2 separate regions of the Homo sapiens genome follow, and region 1 is linked to region 2. The links are contacts of gene promoters, found by promoter capture Hi-C in blood cells and fetal thymus (Javierre and others, 2016). All regions are on one chromosome and are shown on one strand. The core of a region is centred on a gene start or on the middle of the fragment in contact, and the rest is flanking DNA. Distances in the headings are between cores, read along the strand shown. Region 1 has its middle 30 kb from the start of OCM. Region 2 holds the start of INTS15 (integrator complex subunit 15).

Evidence for each region. The method cuts DNA at HindIII sites, captures the fragments that hold promoters and counts their contacts. A CHiCAGO score of 5 or more calls a contact.
Region 1: a contact is called between a fragment that was not itself captured here and the fragment with the promoter of INTS15 in region 2, in 1 of 17 cell types (erythroblasts). The highest score is 5.0, in erythroblasts.

What each region holds. Positions count from the first base shown.
Region 1 is chr7:5,849,314-5,852,063 of GRCh38, reverse strand. It overlaps the pseudogene ZNF815P. Among named protein-coding and RNA genes, the nearest start is that of OCM, 30 kb to the left of the region's middle. The HindIII fragment of the contact is 1,294 bases long and covers 744-2,037 here.
Region 2 is chr7:6,588,627-6,591,368 of GRCh38, reverse strand. It overlaps INTS15 (integrator complex subunit 15), which reads right to left and starts at 1,348. Exons shown (of 6, transcript NM_024067.4): 1 at 894-1,348. The coding sequence starts at 1,085. ZDHHC4 (zDHHC palmitoyltransferase 4) reads right to left here. Exons shown (of 8, transcript NM_001134389.2): 8 at 1,995-2,742. The coding sequence ends at 2,459. It overlaps LOC124901582 (a long non-coding RNA gene), which reads left to right and starts at 1,465. Exons shown (of 2, transcript XR_007060201.1): 1 at 1,465-1,909; 2 at 2,144-2,446. RefSeq lists a silencer at 1,024-1,523 and enhancers at 1,594-1,743, 1,368-2,206. The HindIII fragment of the contact is 9,756 bases long and covers 1-2,742 here.

The DNA.
Region 1 (2,750 bases), core at 141-2,640, 740 kb after region 2:
CAAACTCCTGAGCTCAAGTGATCTGCCTGTCTCGGCCTCCCAAAGTGCTGGGATTACAGGCGTGAACCACCGTGCCCAGCCAAGACATTATTCTTTTGTAAAGTAAACATAGTTGCTCTTAGCATATGGTTCTCAATTGATGGGCGTGTGTGTGTGTGTGTGTTCTCTCTGGAAAAGTTTTCTCTGGGAGAAAATTCTAGATTTCACTGTTTTACATTTCAAAGTTGCCAGTTTGTTAAAAAAATCAGGCTGAGAAGAAACATGTTAGGACAAAAATGTGAAAGACTGTCATTAAAGCAAGCAAGACCAAGGACGGAGTTTTACAGACTTTGCACAGAATTCTTGGATCAACCCATGGACGCGGTGGTTGATTTTAACAGGAGCTGCAGAGTCTAATCCCTTTCATCACAAATGCATCTGGGACCAGAGCCCGATTTCCTGCTGCCCTTGGGGGACTTTTTAACCATTTTTTTTCCCCAAGCTTAGAGTATACATCAAATCCCAGGTCCACACTGACCCCCACTCTGGGCTGGAAGGGCCTGACCTCTCCCAAGAGAGTGGGGGTGGAAGAGAAGCTGTGAAATACAAAGTCATTTGATGGATGTGACACTGGGCACAGGTTGACCATCAAGCCAGGGAGGAGGCCTTTATGCCCGAAAACCCCTGAGCCTGTTCCAGGGATGCAGTGAACCACTCCTGTACCCACCCAGGCTTGCCTAGGTGTGTTGTGTGCCAAGGAAGCTTCAGGGAAGAGAGAGGACAGAGAGAGGTTGGATGTCTAAGTGTTGTTCAGTAAAGTGAACAGAAAGCAAATGTTCCAGTCTGGGAAAGTAAAATCACATATAAGAGGAAAGCGGATTGTCATAGAAGGTCCGAGGCCCGGGCTAGGGAAGGGAAAAACCACACGCTCAAAGTCCTGGTCAAGGCGTGTCCACGTTAATGGGAGAGAAGCACCTTCCTCCACTGTGGGGCCAGGGCAGGGCCAGAGCACCAGCTGGGAGTGGATCCTACACTTTTTTTTTTTTAATTGTGGTAAAATATGCGTAACATAAAATTTGCCATTTTCGCTATTTTTGAGGGTACAATTCAGTGGCATTTATTACATCAAAAATATTGTGCAACCAGGCTGGGCATGGTGGCTCACGCCTATAACACCAGCACTTTGGGAGGCCAAGGCGGGCAGGAGGTCAGGAGTTCAAGACCAGCCTGGCCAACGTGGCAAAACCCCATCTCTACTAAAAATACAAAAATTAGCTGGACATGGTGGTGTGCACCTATAATCCCAGCTACTCAGGAGGCTGAGGCAGGAGAATTTCTTGAACCCGGGAAGTGGAGGTTGCGGTGAGCCGAGATTGCACCACTGCACTCCAGTTGGGGCGACAGAGCGAGACTCCATCTCAAAAAAAAAAAAAAGAGAAAAACAAAATATTGTACAACCATCACCATCATCCATCTCCAGCACTTTTCCATCTTCCCAAACTGAAACTGTCCCCATTAACCCTCACTCTCCATCCCCCTTACCCCCAAGCTCTGATAACCAACGTTTTACTTTTTTTCTGTCTCTTATCAGTTTGACTATTCTAGGTACCTTATATAAGTGGACTCATGCTGTGTCTACCTTTTTTTCTTAACAAGAGTTTTGCTTGTTGCCCAAACCGGAGTGCAGTGGTGCGATCTCGGCTCACTGCAACCTCTGCCTCCCAGGTTCGAGCGAAGTCTCCTGCCTCAGCCTCCCGAGTAGCTGGGACTACAGGCGTCTGCCATCACGCCCAGCTTTTTGTATTTGTAGTAGAGATGGGGTTTCACCATGTTGGGCAGGCTGGTCTCAAACTCTTGACCTCGGGTGATTCACCCTCCTCAGCCTCCCAGAATGCTGGGATTACAGCCACTGCACCCGGCCTGATTGTTCAGTTTCTCAATTGGAACATGAGTAGGGCAAGTTCAAATTCTAACTTAGATGACATGCAGGCCAGTGCACATGGACTCATCCAGGTAAAATCTTGCCCTACCCAGAGCCCAAGGACAGACAGGCAAGCTTTCTGTCTCCAGTCTGCCGTCTCCCTTGATGTACAGCCTGTGGAAAGTTCTGCGCATCTGAGTTATTTCAAGGCCAGTTCTGTCTTGTGTAGCCCCCAAGTTCTTGTTTCTTACCCTTCTATACCATTTAACATTCAAGTTCCAAGTAAACAAAAACCCATAGAACAGCTACAGCATCAACTCACAGACTTTGTTTTTCAGTACCTTCTACATAGCTGGCACCTGGATACTTATTTTCCTGAGAGCTGAATTATGTATCTAAAAGGATGTCAGCGGTTGTTGTCCGTCATGTCCAGTTGTTTTCAGTGGGTTTTCACTTCATTTCTATTGAGAGAGGGTCTCACTGTCACCCAGGCTGGTGCGCAGTGGCACGACCATGGCTCACTGTAGCCTCAAACTCCTGGGCTCAAGGGATTCTCCCACCTCAGCCTCCCAAGTACCTGGTCCTACAGGCACGTGCCACCACGCCCAGCTAATATATATATGTATTTGGTACAGACAGGGTCTCACCGTGTTGCCCAGGCTGGTCTTGAACTCCTGGGGTCAAGTGACCTGTCCACCTTGACTTTCCCAAGTGCTGAGATCACAGGCACGAGCCACTGCCCCGGTGATTTTCACTTTAGACGGTCCACCGTATTGCCAGAAAATGGAGTCCTAATATAGAAATATAACTTGTTTTGAGACAGAGTCTTGCTCTGTCGCCCAGGCTGGAA
Region 2 (2,742 bases), core at 99-2,598:
CTTGAACCTGGGAGGCGGAGGTTGCAGTGAGCCGAGATCGCACCACTGCACTCCAGCCTGGTGACAGAGTGAGACTCCGTCTCAAAAAAAAAAAAAAAAAGAAAAACAGGAAATAACAGTATTTTCCCGTAGAACTTTTCGCCCTTCGTAAAGTTCCCGTAGAACTTTTCGCCCTTCGTAAAGCTCAGGTCTCAGGGAGATCTTTGCTGTTGATCTTAGAAAAAAGTCATATAGGCCAGGCGTTGTGGCTCACGCCTGTAATTCCAACACTTTGGAGGCCAAGGAGAGAGAATCTTGAGCCCAGGAGTTTGAGACCAGCCTGGGTAACACAGGGAGGCCCCATCTCTACAAAACATTCAAAAATTAGCTGGGCATGGTGGTGCACGCCTGGAGTCCCAGCTACTCAGAAGGATGAGGCGGGAGGATTACTTGAGCCCAGGAGTTCAAGGTTGTAGTGAGCTGTGATTGCACCACTGCACTCCTGCCTGGGCAACGTAGTGAAACCTTGTCTCGAAAAAAAAAAAGGCAGAGAAAGAAAAAAAAAAGAAAAAGATGTAAGAAGAAAGCCATACAGATCATTATACATCCTCCTGGAGGGTTCAGGATGAGCCTTTCGGTAACAGCCCAACAGACCTCTAGGGAGCGGGCAGTCGCCAGTTTGTCCCTTTAACACCAAGACTCGGCTGTCACACGCCCCGCAGACTGGACAGGCAGCTGAGCAACACTGCAGGACCCGGAGAAGGGTTTGGGGGCTGCTGCAGGAGCGAGGCCGAGCGCGAGCGCGGGGATCCTGGACATGGGGCGCCCGCGGCTTGACACAGCCCTGCATCGCTGGGGAAAAGGCCCGCCCGCCCGCCTGCGGGGCCCGGGAACCCGACCGTCTCAGGCCGCACCTTGGGCTGCGCGCTGCGCTCCTTGGGCACCTGGAACACGAACTCCTCCAGCAGCTCCACGGGGCCCTTGTCCACGATGGGCAGCGGCGCGCTCTGCAGCTGGCTGCTGAAGTAGATGTCCAGGTGGTACAACACCTCCTTGGCGGCGCTCAGCGCATCGCGGCGCAGCAGCGAGTGGCGGATGTCGCTCATGGTGCGGCCGCCGCGGCCCCCGCGCCGAGCGCGTCTCACTTCCGCCCGGGGCCCGGGACTGCGCCGCTACCCGTGGAAACAAAGAGGCGCGACCCGGGCCTGGGCTGCGGCACCCGCCCGCTTGCCCGCCTGCCGCCGCCTGCTCCCTGCCTGCTCAGGGGGCCATCGCTGCTGCCGCCGGCCAGCAGGCGCCCGAAGGTCCGACTGCGGCGCCGCCAGGAGCCGCCGGGAGCTGCCGCCGCGCAGCCGAACAGCGGCCGAATGCCGGGCACGGAGACGGCGGCCCGCAGGGGCCAAGCGCAGGCCGCGGCCTAGGCGCGCTCTCCGGAGGGCGCCCCCTGGCGGCGCGAGCGGTGAGGGGCGCGCCGCGGTCCCAGGTGGACCCCGCCCCCGGAGCCCGCCCAACCGCCGGTGCAGGCCCGCTCCGTCCTTGCCCAGGCTCCCTCGCGGGCTGTGCGTCGCGTTCAGAGCTGCCGCTGGTTGATTTCACGGTGCTTTCCACCAGCAAGAATTGGGGGTGGTGCCGGGCTTTGGCTTCGGCCAGCGGACTTGGGTTCCCTGGCCGCCCCAGCTACCCGTCTTCACGTTTCCATCTGTTCTCAGCTGGGGGGTACGGGGGAAGATGGCTGGAAGGCCCCCTGCCCCTGACTCCCACTTCCCAGCCTCTCTGACTGCGGGCTCCTTGGCCTAGCAAGGTGCAGAACACCTGCCACCTGCACCTGAGAGCCCTCCCACTCCAAAGACCTTCCGCACCAAGACCTCGTTTCTGGCAGTCATGTCTCCTCTGAAATAGGTGGCAGTTCACTTTCACAATTTTTAAACTGGTGAGAAAGGACTTGAATGTGGCTAGAGGAGGGCAGGCCGGAGGCCACACATGCAGGAAGGTGCCTGATGTACAAGCCCATACTGGCCGGAAGGCAGGCCTGGGTGAGGACACTCTGTTGTTGAGATGAAAATCCCCTGGGGGAGAGAGGAGAATAGAGGGGGCATAAAAGAGAGCACAGCCAGGCACAACGCGCAGGCGCTGAGTCAATGAGACCCTCCTGCACATCACACAGGTCAGAGACACGGCCGCAAGCCCCTCCTGTCCACATGCCCAGAGTTTAGAGACACCAAGGTCTCAGCATCACCTAGAACCTCTGAGAAGTCATCTCTTGATCCCCTTGACACCAGGACTTCAGAGATGCCCGGTTTCAAAAGAAGACAAGCAAGGGGGATTCCTCAGTCAACACCCATTTTCCCCTCTCTCCCTTGCCCACCGAAAGTGATTTATAAGCACAGCAGAAATCAAAACAAACAAGCCATGCTTGGAAAACGAGGATCCACATGTGTAAATAAACGGGAACTACAGCTCAAAGGCAGTCATACACTTGTCATTCTTGTTTCTTCCTCTCATGACATGGAAAGGCAGGTAGAAAGATCTCTTGAAGGTTGCTCCGAAGCCCATGGGAGTGAATGTTCCGGTGGACTTGGGGCTCTGCTGACGGAGGCCAGGCCACAAGGGGACAACGCTGGCACCAGGCCCAGTCACCTCTGTACCACTCGTTAGTAGTCTGGTTGGTGGCCGCCAGATACAGGACAAACAACAGGTAGCCACCCAGGAGGAAGCTCAGAACCACGACAAAGCCCAGCATGAAGACAATCCGTGGAAAAGTCA